2 separate regions of the Homo sapiens genome follow, and region 2 is linked to region 1. The links are contacts of gene promoters, found by promoter capture Hi-C in blood cells and fetal thymus (Javierre and others, 2016). All regions are on one chromosome and are shown on one strand. The core of a region is centred on a gene start or on the middle of the fragment in contact, and the rest is flanking DNA. Distances in the headings are between cores, read along the strand shown.

Region 1 (7,807 bases), core at 2,955-5,454:
GTGATGGGCCAGGCACTGTGTAAGTGCCAGCTCCAGAGATCAATTAAAAAGAATAAGGTAAACGTATAGACACTGACAGAAAGAATTTCAAGAATGCATTGTCAATAAGGCAAGTTGTAAAACTTAAATATATCTTTATTTCTCCTTTTTTGGTTTAAAAAATCTGCATTGTAATATAGGTGTAAATGTATATATAGAAAAAGTTCTGAAAGAATATACATCATGCCATTAACTCTATTCGAATAATTTGTGGATTTGTCTGATCTTCTGTAATCAGTTAAAAAAAAAGATATTTACATATACAAAAATGACAGCATGAATATTAGAAAAATTGGTATTCAGGCTGGGCACAGTGGCTCACACCTGTAATCCCAGCACTTTGGGAGGCTGAGGTGGGTGGATCACTTGAGGTTAGGAGTTCGAGATCATTCTGGCCAACATGGTGAAACCCCATCTCTACTAATAATACAAAAATTAGCCGGGTGTGGTGGCACATGGGCCTGTAATCCCAGCTACTAAGGAGGCCGAGGCAGGAGAATCGCTTGAACCAGGGAGGCAGAGGTTGCAGGGACCCGAGATTGCACCACTGTACTCCAGCCTGGGTGGCAGAGTGAAACTGTGTCCTGTGTCTCAAAAAAAAAAAGAAAGAAAGAAAGAAAAATAGTATTCAAGGAAAAAAAAAACTTTAAACAGGGTAAAGAGAGATACTGAAGAGTTTGAGGTGACAGTGAGCTATGATTGTGCCACTGCACTCTAGCTCTAGGCACCAGAGTGAGATCCTGTCTCTAAAAAAAGAAAAAAAGAGACTATCTACCAAGACTATCTTCTGTCATAAACATACATAGCAACCAATATTCCATTAAATGTATGAAGAAAACAGTTATAAAAGCACATAAATTGTACGCTATAAAGTTTTTAAAAATGCCTATGCAACTCTTGCCAAGATTGATCAGGTACTGAATCATAAAAGAAAGCACAATGCATTTCCAATAGTAGAAATAATAAAAGTCACATTAATGGAACACAGTGCAGTACAGCTAACCTCTAACCACAAAAACATCCAGATAAGAAAAAATTTGAGTCACCTCACAAAGAAAATACTTCTAAATATCTCATGGTCAAAGAAGAAATCAAACCTAAAATTATAAACTAGAAATTAATAAGAATGAGAGCACTTCATATGAAGTAAAACACTGAAAAAAATAAACTTAGAGAAAACTGGAGGAAGATATTAATAAACATTAAAGCTGAAAATAATAACTTAAGTAGAGAATGGGAAAAATGGTAGAACAGAAAAATAAATCTAAGAAATAGTTCTTTGAAAATATCAACAGAATAAACTCTGGAGAGTTTAGTTACATGAGAAAGAGAAATGCATACAAATAAGATGGCTTGATTGGTGGATAGATAAATGACATATATGTAGTAAAGTTATAACAAAACATGGTAAAATCAATGTGGTGGGTATACAGATGTAAAATTCTTTCAACGTCGTATGTTTGAAAACTTTCATAATAAAATAGATAAAAATCTCTTGGGGCACAGTGCGGTGGCTCACGCCTGAAACAACACTTTGGGAGGCTGAGGCAGATTGGAGAGGATTGCTTGAGCCCAGGAGTTTGGGACAAGGCTGGGCAACATAGTGAGACCTCATCTTGTTCCCCACTCCCCCCTCCCCCCCCAAAAAAAATTAGCCAGGCATGGTGGCTTGCACTTGTAATCCCAGCTATTCAGGATGCTGAGGCAAGAAGATCCCTTGAGCCCAGGAGATCGAGGCTGCAGTGAGCCATGATCATGCCACTGCACTCCAGCCTGGGAGACAGAGTGAGACTGTCTCAAAAAAAAAAAGAAAGAAAGAGAAAGAAAGAAAAGAAAGAGAGAGAGAGAGGAAAGAAAGAAAGAAAGAAAGAAAGAAAGAAAGAAAGAAAGAAAGAAAGAAAGAAAGAAAGAAAGAAAATACTCCTTAGCTAATAATCAGGGAAATGTAAATAATGAGACATTTTTCACCCATTATATTGGCAAAATATTAAAATGATTGGTTAATATCGAGTCCGGGTAAGAATTTAGGGAAATGCTAATTCTTACTCACTGCTAGTGGAGGTATAAACTGAAATAGTCGTTCTACGTGGCAATTTGTCATTTGACATTATGTATTAGAATTTCAAAATGTGCTATCTTTGGGCAGAGAATAGTGGCTCACGCCTGTAATCCAAGCACTTTGGTAAGCCGAGGCAGGAGGATCACTTGAGCCAAGGAGTTTGAGACCAGCCTGAGCAACGTAGTGATACCTCATCTCTACAAAAAATACAAAAATTAGCCAGGCGTGATAGCACACGCCTATAGTCCCAGTTACTCGAGGGAAGACTGAAGTGGGATGATTGCTTGAGGTGGGAGGATCGCTTGAGCCTTGGAGGTCAAGGCTGCAGTAAGCCCTAATCGCACCAGTGCACTCCAGCCTGGGTGACAGTGAGACACTATCTTAAAAAAAAAAAATGTGTGCTACCTTTATCCAACTATTTCATTTCTCCATGTTTATCTCACAGAAATATTTTAGCATCTGCAGAAAAAAGCATGTACAAGGAATTTTATTGCAGCATTGTTAACAGTAAAAAAAAAACCCCACTGTAATAGTCAAAGATTGAAAATAACATGTGTTTATCCATAGATGAATGATTACAGTATATTCATTCAATGGAATACTATGCAGTAGGTAAGATAAATGAGGTAGATTTATATATATTGACATGGAAAGATCTTCAAGCTACATTAAGTGAATAAAGCAATTAACATAACAATACATAAAAAGGATGCTATTTATTTTTTAAATGAAAAACAAAAACAAAGCCATGCTTTTCTATTTGTGTATATGAATGTAAGGGGAACTTTAAATTTATCCGTGTTTTACAATAATCATGTGTAATTAGGAAACCAATTTTAAAATGAAAAAAGAACAACCGAAGTTAATTACATGCTAAAGAAAGTATAGCTTCATGTTGCCACTAAATGTTACAGATGGGCCGGGTCTTTCGCCTGTAATCCCAGCGCTTTGGGAGGCCGAGGCGGGTGAACTGCTTGAGCCTAAGAGTTTGAGACCAGCCTGGCAACATAGTGAGACCCCGCCTCTACAAAAAATAAAAAGTTATCCAGGCGTGGTGGCGCATACCTGGAGGCCCAGCTACTTGGGAGACTGTAGGCAGGCAGGAGGATCCTTGAGCCCAGGAGGTCGAGGCTGCAGTGAGTCGTGACCGTGCCACTGCACTTCACCCTGGGTGACAGAGTGATGCTTTGTCTCAAAAAAAAAAAATTGTAAAAATATTCAATGAAACAGTGTATCTCGAAGGGGCCCTGTACATCTCCTGAGATCATATACAAAATTTTATGTGTAAGTATATATTGGGGTGGGGGACCCATTCATTAGATTCTCAATTCGAGGGATGAACCACTGCTCTGGAGGGCTGGAATTAGAGAAGTGGAGGGTATAATCACAGTTTTTATTTCCTCGATGTCTCAGGAGTTCTTTTAATAGTGCTTTTGTCTTTAAATACTAAATTAATACATACTTTTTATTAAAAATTGAAACCTTATCGAAGTAGCTAGAGTTCCAAGTCAAAGTTCTTCGCCCCTCCAATGTCGTCCGCAGCCCACAATAATTAAGTAGGGTTAACAGGTGATCTCCCACCAGGTCCTTTTTATTCCCATGTATTTACAGATGCAGATCCTCTACAGGATCCTTGTCAATCGCACTGCCGTTCCAAATAATTAAAGGAGGAAAAAAGAATGTTTATTGAGGGCTTACTATGTGCCTGAAGTGTTTTAAGGGTTTGCTCGCGTGAACTCTGGGTGGTCGGCTTCCCACGTCGTCTCCCACCCTCCGCTCTGGGTCCAGCCTTGCCCTCTTGCCCCACACTCCCCATTCTTCACAAGGCATCTGGCGAGGTCGTTAATTTTTAAAGGTAAATCAGATCAAATCATGTTCCCTTCCGCGGCTTCCACCGTGCCTCGAATCAAATCCCAATTCTTAGCGACCCTATCATCCTCTATGGTTGCATTTACTGGGCCTTGGGTAGCTCAGGCGCGGTCCCCTGCAAGGGACCCGACTTCACCGCGGAGGGAGCTCCCTCCCGAGGGGCAGGGGCGGGGCTTCGCTTGCGGTGGGTGGAGCCCCAAATCGAGTTTGAGCTGAGCCGAAGCGAGGAGGCTTTCGACTGAGGGCTAGCGAGGGGAGCAGGGCTGGAGCAGGGCTGGAGCAGGGCTGGAGCAGGGCTGAAGCAGGGCTGAAGCAGGGCCGCGGACCCCGCACGCTCCTGCGGGCCCCGCGGAGCCATTGCGGCCGAGGTGAGCGTCTATCCCTGGGCTGGAGGGCGAGCTCTGTACGCGCGGCCGTTCTCGGTTTCTCGCGGGTGGCAGTGGCGAGGTTGGGGGGGGAGTTCCCACGGGACCCTGCGCGGAGGCGCGGAGGTGGCGGCCTTGGGGAGCCTGCGGGAAAGGCTGCTGGAGGGGCAGGGCGGCCTGCCCCAACCCTCCCTGAACCCCGCCTCCTCTCCCCTCCCCCAGGCCTCGGCAGGCGCCAGCGGAGAGCTAGCCGCATCTTCGGGGGCAGCCCGGCAGCTGCCGGCGGCGCGGCGAGAGAGCGGCTGACAGAGGGGATGCGAGGTACCGGCATTAGCCATGGCCAAGTGGCCCTAAAGAGAGAGTAGAGGCCGGGCCTTCAGCGTTTCTCACTGGTTCGAGGAAGGCGGCCTCAGAGGAGAGGGAAGGTGAGGGGCGGGCAGGCAGGCTTCGCGGGTAACTACTAGGCGTTGCATATATATGTTTTGATATCTAAATGGTACTACACACACACACACATTCATTTCGACTAACTGCTTGTTTAAAAATCTGAGAATATGTCTTGTAGATCTTCTTATATCCGGGAATCCAAATTTATGTTGGGTTTTAAACAGCTGCATTGTATGATTGTACTACAGTTTATTTAACCATTTCCCGATTGATATACATTAGCTTGTTTCTCTGTTGGGGGAGGGAGGGGACTATTACAAGCAATGCCATAATGAATGGGTTTGTGTATATGTATCATGCCATGTATGAGTATTTCTGTAGGAGAAATTCTTAGAAGAGTAACCGCTGGGTCAGGGTGTATATGCATTTTGAATTTTGATAGATTTGTCCAAATTGCCTTCCCAAAAGCCTGTACTAATTTACACTCTTTAATGTTGTGCGAGAGTGCCTATTTTTCCACAGTTATGCCAACACGTATTATCAATCTTTGTAATTTTAGCCAATTTAAAGGGCAAAAAAATCGTATGTCATTGTTTTCATTTGCATTTCCCTGATTACTGGCGAAATTGATCATATTTTTGTTTGTAAATAGGCAAATATCAATAGTTTATATAGGCAGTTTTCCTATCTATAAGCAATAAGCATTTTGAAATTTTAATAATAAAAAACCTGTTCGCAATAGCAAGAGAAACGAATAAAAATACCTAGAAGTAAACTATAAAACTTTATTGACGAATACCATAAAAGAACATCTGCATGAAAAGAGAAGGAATACTATGCTTCTGAATAAGAAGGCTCAATATTTTAGTGATGTCCATTTTTCCTATATTGGTTTATACAGTTGATGCAATTTCAATAAATATACCAAGTTTTTTTGGAACTTACTATGATTCTAAAGTTCATCCGGGGGAAAAAAATGGCTAAGAATAACTGAAAAAAAATATTTTAAAACGTAAGTAAAGATAGGGATATTTGTACTACTGGCTATTAAAATGTACTCTAAAGGAACTATTTAAATTAGAACGGACAGAACAATGCATTAGAATGGAAAAGCCCACAAATCAAGCCAGATTGGATCCCAAGATTTATTGGAGAAACACTGTTGGCTAGACGTGGAAAAACTGCCATATTAAAAGCTTCAGGCATTTCCCCCCATCCCCGAAGCTTGAATATTCCTTTGAGGGCAGACTCCTTTGTTTGGAGAAAACCACTTTATTGGATCTTTTTGGTTATGCCAAGGTAAAGCTTCAGTAGTTAAAATTGGTGGCTTTGGAACTAGAACTAATGATATGGCCTTTAGTTAGATTAAGATGGATTCAGGTTAGCCTGCAGTGCGGCGAGGGAAGGAGTCTGGATAATGTAGGTTTAAAAATTTTTTTCCCTATCTAATGGGCAAAAAATGTTATGTCATTGTTTTCATTTGCATTTGTGTGCTTACTGTGAGATTGAACGTCTTTTAAATGTTAGTCCAGGATAATATGTTATTCCTGGAGACAGGTAACAATGGGGGACTCTTTGCTCCGCTTCCAGAATGGAGTTTGGCTAATTGGTACAGCCTTGCCCGGAAGCGTGAGAATAAACAGGTTGACTTTTTAAATTTTCCTCAAGCACTAGGCTCTAGACACCTAGATCGGGGGCGGAGGCAGTTTTCAGGACATGGCCGAGATTTGGCGCTGAGCTGTGTCATCGCGAGGTTTGGCAGCCAGCTCCGCAGTGGGTCGGAAACCTCGTGGTAGGCGAGATCCCTGCAGGACGGGAGGGTTCCTCCCTTCCCCCGAAAAACTCCCAGTCATTTTCATGAAGCTCCGCCTTTCTCCTTTTTAGGAGTGTGCACCAGGTCTCGCGATATCTCATGTTTCCTAAAGGCGAGGCGCGGGCGGCATCCTGCGGTGAATTAAGAAGGTCTCGCCGAGGCTAAAGCGTAATATCGCGATAGTTCTCAACGCATGCGGGAGCCGGCCGTGGTAGGTTGGCTCCGCCCCTCACTGCTTCGTTAGGTTGTGCGTCATTTGCTTTTCGCTTCGCGTAGGGTGAAGCTGTAGCTACTTCGGCTTTGGTGGGAGGGAGGAGGGGTCTGGAAAGGGCTGGGCTCAGGCTTTTCCCGTCCGGTAGAGGTTCTCGCGGGATCGCGCGGAGGCGGCGGTGGCTCGGTTACTGACTGCAGTAGCCGCGGAGGCGGCGGCAAGGTCTTCGGCTCGTGCCGTTCTAAGCCGGAGAATTCTCGCGGGAGCAGGGTTACGTCCTCGTGGGATTCGTTGGCGGTGGCTGAGGTAGCTCGCGGGTGGGGGGTGGGGGGGCAGTGACTAGGGTCGGTCCGCCTGCTGTTAAGATGGCGGCGGAGGCTGATGTCTGTCCGGCCAGGACCCAGCACAGAGGTGTTGGCTATCTGCCTTTATGACGCCTCTGAGGTGCCCAGCGTTAAGGAGGTGACGATTGGCGAAACGCCGGGGTGCCGGTAAACTAGACCTGAGGCGAAGACCACCTCGTTTCTTGTCCGTTGAGGCGACACCATTTCCTGGGCCTCGGCCGCGTGTGGGCCCGCCTTTGCCCCACCGATCGGTCAACGCCTCCGTTGTCGCCGCCGCAGTGGGCGGATTGGGAAGGGTGGGAGGGGAGTCTGGAGTTCGCTGGGGAGTGGGGTTGGGGGTTAAATTGAACGGTGGGAAAGAGGAGCAACCAATGAAGAGTGGCCCCTTTCCCCTACCTTTTCTGCCGGCCAACCTCCGTTCTCAGCACCTCCGACGACCCGGATGAATACCCTGGTTTTTCTCGAGGTGGGGTCATCTTCGCCAACTCTCGCGGTTTTAGAGCTAAGGCTTAGGGTTCAAGCAGTAGTGTCACTGGTGTACTCCTCCTCCTCTCCCCACACCCCTCCTAATTCTGTCGTCCCATCTAATCTTCATCTACGTGGATAGTTGAGGCTGGTATTTAAGGGAGGGGGGAGTCAAAGCTTTTCCCTGTGACTCCTTCCCCAGTTCTAAATTCGAGTTTAGCCTAAGTCCTCTAGCCCGCTCTGTCTCCCCCTTCC
Region 2 (7,807 bases), core at 2,093-4,592, 960 kb before region 1:
CAAGAGTTATTCAATATTAGGAAATACACATAATTCATTGTACTAATAGGTCAAATGAAAAAACCCACACGGTCATCTCAATGGATGCCCAAAAGATGAATTTAACAAAATTCAAGATGTATTTCTGATTTAGTTATCTAGGAATGGATACTTTCTTGACATACTTTTTATACTCTATATTTCTAACCGAAAACCAGTATCATGCTGAATAATGAAATGTGAGACTCTCCATTAAAGTCAGAGAAAAGGTGCAAGCCCCATTATCACCACTATTACTATTCTGAAGGCAATACATAACACAATTAGACAAGATAATTAAATGAGGCACAAACTTGGGATAGCTATTATAGGAGCAAAATAATCTCTATTTGTTGATGACATAGCTGTGTAACTTGAAAGCCTGAGGAAATTTATGGAAAACCTATTAAAAACAATAATAGGATTTAGTGACGTACTGGTAATTGCTTTCCCACAACCAGTTCAAAAAGATAAGGGAAAAATATCCCCTTCACAATAGCAACTAAAATAGGAATAAACCTAACAAGGAACACATAAAACATATAAAAATAAAACTTTAAAATTCTACTAACATAAAAAATTGAATAACTAGAAATCCATACCTTACTCTCCAATAGGAAGATTCGATATTATAAAAGACAATGATTTTCTCTAAATTAACCTATAAATTCAATATAATCCCGGTCAAAATGTCAATAGGCAATTTTATATTATTTTTACTTTCACAATGTGTGCTAAGATTCACCTGGAAGAATAAGTATGTGAAAACAGGCAGAAATTTTCTGAAAAAGAAGCAAAAGAGGCTTTGCCCAACCAGATATGAAGATATATATTTTGAAGTTACATTAATTACAATGGGGTGGCACTGGTGCAGGCACAGACATTCAGATCAATAGAATAAAATAGTGCAGAAATAAACAAAAGCACATATGAAAACTCCATATTTGATAAAGGTGACATTCCAATTCAATGAGTCAATAATTATTAGTCAATAGATGGTACAGAGACAGTAGACTTAGCATTTGAAAGGAAAAGAAGCTAGATCCCTGTCCTAAATCCTACCCCAAAATAAATTCCAGATAGATCAAAGATTTAACTGTAAAACTGAAACCATAAAAGTACTAGCAGACAACATGGATGAATCATTTTTAATACATAATTTTGGAGTGGGTAAAGTATTTGTAATCACTGCAGTTAAAATGGCTTTTCTCAAAAGGACAAAAAATAACGGATGCTGGCAAGGATGCTGAGAAAGGAGAATGTTTGTACACTGTTAGTGGGAATGGAAAGTAGTACAGCCACTATGGAAAACAGTTTGGAGATTCCTCAAAAAACTAAAACTAGAACTGCCATATTATCCAGCAATCCCAGTGCTAGGTATACATCCAAAAGAAAGGAAATCAGTATATTGGAGAGATATCTGCACTCCCATGTTTATTGTAGCACTATTCAATATAGTCAAGACACAGAATCAACCTAAGTGTCCATCAACGGATGAATTGATAAAGAAAATGTGGTATATATACATAATTGAATATTATTCAGCCATACAAAAAGAGTGAAATCCTGTCATTTATAACAACATGCATGACATTATGTTAAGTGAAATAAGCCAGGCACAGAAAAACAAATATCACATGTTCTCACTCATACGTGGGAGTTAAGAAAACACTGATCTTGTGGAGGTAGAGAGTAGTAGGATGATTACCAGAGGCTGGCAAGGGTAGTGGAGAGGTGGGGATAAGGAGGGGTTGGTTAATGGGTACAAAAATACAGTTAGATGGTAGGAATAAGATCTAGTGTTTGGTAGCACCATAGGGTGACTATAGTTAACAATAATTTATTGTATATTTCAAAATAACTAAAAGAGTAGATTTGGAATATTCCCAACACAAAGAAATGATAAATGTTTGAGGTGATGGTTATCCCAATTACCCTGACTGGATCATTACACATCATAAACAGGTATAAAAATATCACATGTAACCCATAGGCATGTACAACCCATAAAAATTAAATTGTGTACCCATAAAAATTAAAATTAAATTAAATTATTTAAAAAGAAAACAAAACCCAAAAACCATAAAGGGAATGATTGGTAAACCTAACCATATAAGTTTAAACAAAGTTTATCTTTGCATATACCACAAGCAAAGACAAAAGACAACAAATGGGTGTGGGAGACATTTGTGCAAATACATATATAATAAGAATATTTATTTCAATATTACAACACATAAAAACAAAAAATTAGAAAAAAATAACCACTAAAAGACATCCAATTAAATAAATTCTGGTAACTCCATACATTGTAATAATATGAATTTGTTTTGTCTTGTTTTTAATAAGGTAGATGTATATGTATTGGTACAGGAAGATGTTAAGTGTTATATGAAAAAGGCAATTATAGAACTTTCATTGGTGTAAACAAAAGCATATATTCATATTTATCTTTATGCAGAAAGATACATGCTTGTTTGTATATGCATGGAAAATGGGAAGATGTAGACAAAACTGTTAACAGTTACTGTCTCTGGAGATTGGTATTAGGAGAGAAAAGCATTGGATGAGAACTTTGTTTTTAGTTTATACATTCATTTATTCTACAAATATTGATTGAACTTACATACCAGCAGTTTTAGATCCTCAGGATACAGATAAGGCTTCTGTTCTCATTTCTGAAGAGGAGGCAGACAATAAACAATTACATAAATGAGCAACGCAATTTCAAACAGTGACAAGGGCTATGCAGGGAATAAAAAGGAGTTTATATGACAGAAAGCAGTGGGGCCAAGAGTTGTGTGGGCTATTTCATACTGCGTGGTTTGGCAAAGTCCTCTCTGAAGAAGTGACAATTGAGTGAAGACAATGACAAGAAGGAGCCAGCCACTGGAAAAGCAAGGGGAAAAGCATTACAAAGAGAAGGGACTCTCTGTTTAAAGCTGGCGAAGGAAAAAAAATTTTTTTTTAAATAAAGAGAAGGAACACTCAGTATAAAGGACCAAAGGTGAGAACAACCTTGGCGTGTTCTGGAAACAGAGGCCAATGTAGCTGGAGCTACATTCCTTTACATTGAAAGGAAATAAATGAAAGGAAGAGTCGAAGGAGCTGATTGATGTTCAGATCAGATTATGTCTGTATTGATTGCTTTTGTTTTTATATGACAAGCTTGTGGTCATTTTTAAAAATAAAAATAACATATTAATGCTTTTAAAAAAAAGATTAAGAGAATCTGACAGACCAGCTCCATCACTGGCTGTGTCACCTTAGTCAAGTTAATCTCACTAAGCCTCAGTTTCTTCACTTGTAAAATGAGGAAAAGTACACTCACCTCAGAGGGCCGAAGTGCAAATTAAATTAAACCTATTTAAAAGGCTGTTTTTGTTAAGACTCTTTTGGATGCAAGGAACAGAAACCCAGTGAAGCTAGATCACGAATCAGAAATCCAAGGGCAGGAAGTGAAGTACAGATAAAGCTTATTAAGCCTGGAGCTGCAGGAAATTTCTGGATGAGGCATGGACCCTCTGCTCTGGAGCTTTACCATTAATGTAATTCATCTGCACTACATGTCTGCTTCTCTCTGTACATCTGCCCCAGCTTCCTCATTCAGCCAACCACCTTGAACTGCTCCCCCAGGATTTTAACAGGCACTTGACCTGATTCATAATGCTGCACCCACCTACCCAGCATCCTGGTCTACTGGACCTGTCAGCTCAGCTCCCCACAACTAACTGGCAACTCTCCTCTGGATCTCTTATTTCACATTCCCAAGAGAGCAATCTGATTGGCCCACCTCATCTTCTAAAGCTGGGCCATACAACTCACAGGTTGTGGGCTGGCCTTGGATCAGGTGCTGTATCCTAAAGGAAGGGTGGATGTAATACATAGTTAGTCCTTGCTTGATCATTTGGTAGGAGCTGTAAGTAGAGCCAGTGCTCCCAGAAGGGGATGTAAAGATGGCCAGTGGCCATCAAAGATAGTGGTGGCATCTCTGATGCATGTGTGCAGCAGAGTGACTGGAACATGGCAGGTGTTCAACAAATAGTCATAATTATTCACGGTAACATTATGCCACCTCTTACAGGAAGCCTTCCCAGAACTCTTAAGGTTCCCAAACTTTTTCACCCAGATCAGGACCCCTACTGCAGGAATCATCCAATTAAGAAATCAATGAAATTTCATTATACAGGACAGACTTTTATGGCCTTCTAGGTATAAAGCACTGTACTGGGCACTGGGAGGAAGGATACACAAATGAATGAGGCCCTTATCCTGGCCTCAAGGAGCTCTGAGGATAGTAAAAGGTAAAAGGCAAACTGAGCCATGAGAAATCCACAGATAGGGAGCTCTGGGAGTTCAGAGAAGGGCAAAAACTGTTGTTTATCCGTATGTATGCCTGTCTCCTGGATACCTCCCTTTAGATGTCCCAAAGGCACCTCGAACTAAATGTATTTAAAACTGATCTCATCTGCTCCCTCCCAAACCTGTTCCTCTTCTCAGATTCCCTGTCTCAGTGAGGCAAGTTCATCCAACCCAGTTGCTCAAGCTTGAAACCTGAGCTGCACCCGCTCACAATGTCAGCTGTTGCAGTTGCTAAAGTTGTCCCCGAACCTTTGGTGTGTGTTTGCCTTGCCCCAAAGGTCAGAACTAATAATAAACTTCTGCATTGCTGCAGGATACGGAAATTAAAACCAGCCTGGAGACAGACAAGACCCGGAGTCCACCAGGTTTGATTTCGGACTTGGCTTCTGATGTCAACGGGTATGATCCCTTTCAGGAAAGCGGGTCGACAAGAGCCTAAAACATGTTTATGACATTTTCCTGGTAATTCTGCTCCTAAATCGATATCCACCCACCCCTACTCCTACAGGAAAAGCTCTAAGCACAAAATTATTCCTTGCAGAGATATATTTTGGTGGTCAAACACTAGAAAGTAGTTTTAATATCCAACAAGAGAAGGGTTAAGTGAATTGTGGCACAGCTGTCTAATGGAACATTCTACAACCATTGCTGAGAGATGACGGCTGTGGAGATTCTATAGCAACAGAGAAAAATTATTATGCCATAACTAAGGATGCAGGGTTGTGTGTACACTCTGACTGCAACAACCTAAAAACTGCATGGCCTCAAGCTCTGCTGATGGACATTTAAAATTTCTCCTCTATTATTACTTTTTAAAAAGGCCTTAACTTTATGTCATGTATGGGTATCTCTGGGTTTGGGGTTTTTGGCTTGTTGTTTTCGTTTTTTCAGTCTTTTCCTTCCGTCAATCAACCGCCTTAAAAATGTGTCTTCTTTGTACCAGGCCCTCCCCGAGGTGCTGGTGATTCAAAGGTCAATCACCCACAACTCTTTCTCTGGGATGTCAGGGCAGAAGAGGAAACAGATACAAAAATAAACAGTTTCAAAAATATATGGGCCAGTCTTTATGGGCCCACTTGTGGACGTACGCAGGCACGGTCACCCCCTGGCGGCCACTCGACTACCAGCTCTTGGGTGGCTCTAACCTCTGGACAGCGGCTTCCACTCTCGGTGGCCAGCCCCAGCCTCGTTCTCCGAGAGAGTCCAAGACTCCTCCCTCTCCCTCCTTCTGGGGCCCTCCATCCCCTAGTAGGCGTCTCAGCCTGGGCCTGGCCCAGACAAATCCGACCCTGTTACTCTCACCGGAGCTCCTCCCTCCCCGAAAGCCTCACTCCGGCTGTGAGCTGCAAGATTACGTCATTGTCAATGGTTCGCATGCGCCCTCACCACTGGACAATTGGCGCACCCCTGCCGCAGGCGGGCGTAGCTTCGGGCTCCGGGGTTCTCCCTTTTCCTTTCCTGATGTTTTTTTTAAAGTGGCGACACACTACTTGTAAGAGACGCTGGTAAACTCGTGGCTTTAGGAGGAAATGGGAGCCAAGAAAAGCTGCAAAGCTCAAGGCTCACGACCGCTTGCTCGCCATTGTCCCACTCACTTCCGAAAGAGATAACGCCCCTTTCCGACTCTTTTGGCCTCCCCGCTCCAAGAGTGAGAATCGAAGCCCCGCCCCGTGAGCGTCTAGTCCCAAGATAACCCAGCTGCGCTTGCGAGTGCAAGTACACTGGGGCGGGGCTGACAGGAGGCTGATGCAATCGAGTCGGGCGGGCGGGGCACGTCGGATGAAAGTGGGTACCGGAAGAAAAGGGGTTATTTCAGCAGGCTTAGTAACCCTATTCAAAGTAAGACCTTAATATATAAGTAAAAGTTCGTGCCTGATTTGGAGAGCTCTTTGACTATTAAATTTTTTTTAATGTAACGCCTGTAATCCCAGCACTTTGGGAGGCCAAGGTGGGTGGATCACTTGAGTCCATGAGTTTGAGACCAGCATGGGCAACACAGTGAGACCCTCCCTCTCTATTTTATTTTAAAAAACATTATTTTAAAGGTATATATCCTATTGGCTCAGCAATCCCATTTCCATATATATACATCCAAGACTCCTAGAGAAGTGTATGCGGATCACCTACAGGGCTTTGTTAAAACACAGATTGTTGTGGCCCATCTACTATCAGAGATTAGGAACTTGTGTTTCTAACAACTTCCAGGGTAATGCTGGGGCAAACTGGTTCAAGACCACACTTTAAGAACCTTAGATCTAGAGGACAAAAAACTGCAAGGAGCCTTATGAACAAGTGTAAGCCGTGCTGATTTGTTGGCAATAACGAAAAATTGAAAGTATCAGTGGGGGCAGGAGATGGTTGATAAACTTATCAGTTTAAAATGGGCTATATATAGGCCGGGCATGGTGGCTGACGGCTGTAATGCCAATACTTTGAGAGGCCGAGGTGGGTGGATCACCTGAGGTCAGAAGTTCGAGACCAGCATGGTGAAACCCCGTCTCTACTAAAAATACAAAAATTAGCCAGGCGCCTGTAATCCCAGCTACTCAGAAGGCTGAAGCAGGAGAAACGCTTGAACCCGGGAGGCGGAGGTTGCAGTGGGCCGGAGATTGCGCCACTGCACTCCAGCCTGGGCAACAGAGCCAGACTATCTCAATTAATTAATTAATTAATTTAATGAGCTATATATAAACTGACATGGAAAGATATCGAAGGTGATGATGATAGTAGTGAGGGTGGTGATGATGATACTTAATGTTTATTGAGCACTTACACTGTATCAGGCACTGTGTGAAGGATTTTACATTTCTTACCTCATTTTCTACAGCAATTCTCAGGAATGTGGACTGTGTCTAATTCGCTGTATATTTTTAGTCCAGAACAGGGTCTGGCACCCAGGATCTTGTCAGTAAATGTTTGTGGCCTCATGTGATCAGATCCAGTCCCACAAGTTCACAGTCCCAAGAGTTTAGGACTTCACAGCCCAAACAATATTTCAAAAAATTGCAAAGGATGGATAAAATATTGCGGAAGAAGGACACTAAAAACAAACTACTGCCTTCTATCACCATCATTTTAAGAAAAGACAATTACACATAATCCCCCATTAAAGGAACGAACTTTTTAATTTATCTTTAATATGAAAATTTTTAACATATGCAAAAGTAGAAAGAAGAGTAAATGAACCCCCAAGTACCTCTCACCCAGCTTCTCAATTATCACCTCCTGGCCAAGCATCTTACATCTCAAACCCCAACACACATCGTATCCCAGATTACTTTGAAGCAAATGCTAGACGCCATTTTCTCCATAAATATTTGAGTTCATGTGTTTAAAATATAAGAACTCTTTTATAATAATAACCATAATACCACAGAATATCTAAAAATTTAAGAATAATTTCCTAATATTATAAAATATCCAAGTA

What was found. Contacts are between HindIII fragments. The CHiCAGO score rates a contact against its expected background, and 5 or more counts as called.
Region 2: a contact is called between a fragment that was not itself captured here and the fragment with the promoter of HUWE1 in region 1, in 1 of 17 cell types (total B cells). The highest score is 5.4, in total B cells.

What each region holds. Positions count from the first base shown.
Region 1 is chrX:53,683,116-53,690,922 of GRCh38, reverse strand. HUWE1 (HECT, UBA and WWE domain containing E3 ubiquitin protein ligase 1) reads left to right here and starts at 4,204. Exons shown (of 84, transcript NM_031407.7): 1 at 4,204-4,335; 2 at 4,555-4,653. RefSeq lists silencers at 4,023-4,197, 4,271-4,570 and an enhancer at 4,781-4,860. The HindIII fragment of the contact is 15,452 bases long and covers 1-5,917 here.
Region 2 is chrX:54,637,717-54,645,523 of GRCh38, reverse strand. It overlaps a transcript of GNL3L not described here. Among named protein-coding and RNA genes, the nearest start is that of GNL3L, 110 kb to the right of the region's middle. RefSeq lists enhancers at 5,580-5,829, 6,120-6,249, 5,816-6,341. The HindIII fragment of the contact is 307 bases long and covers 3,189-3,495 here.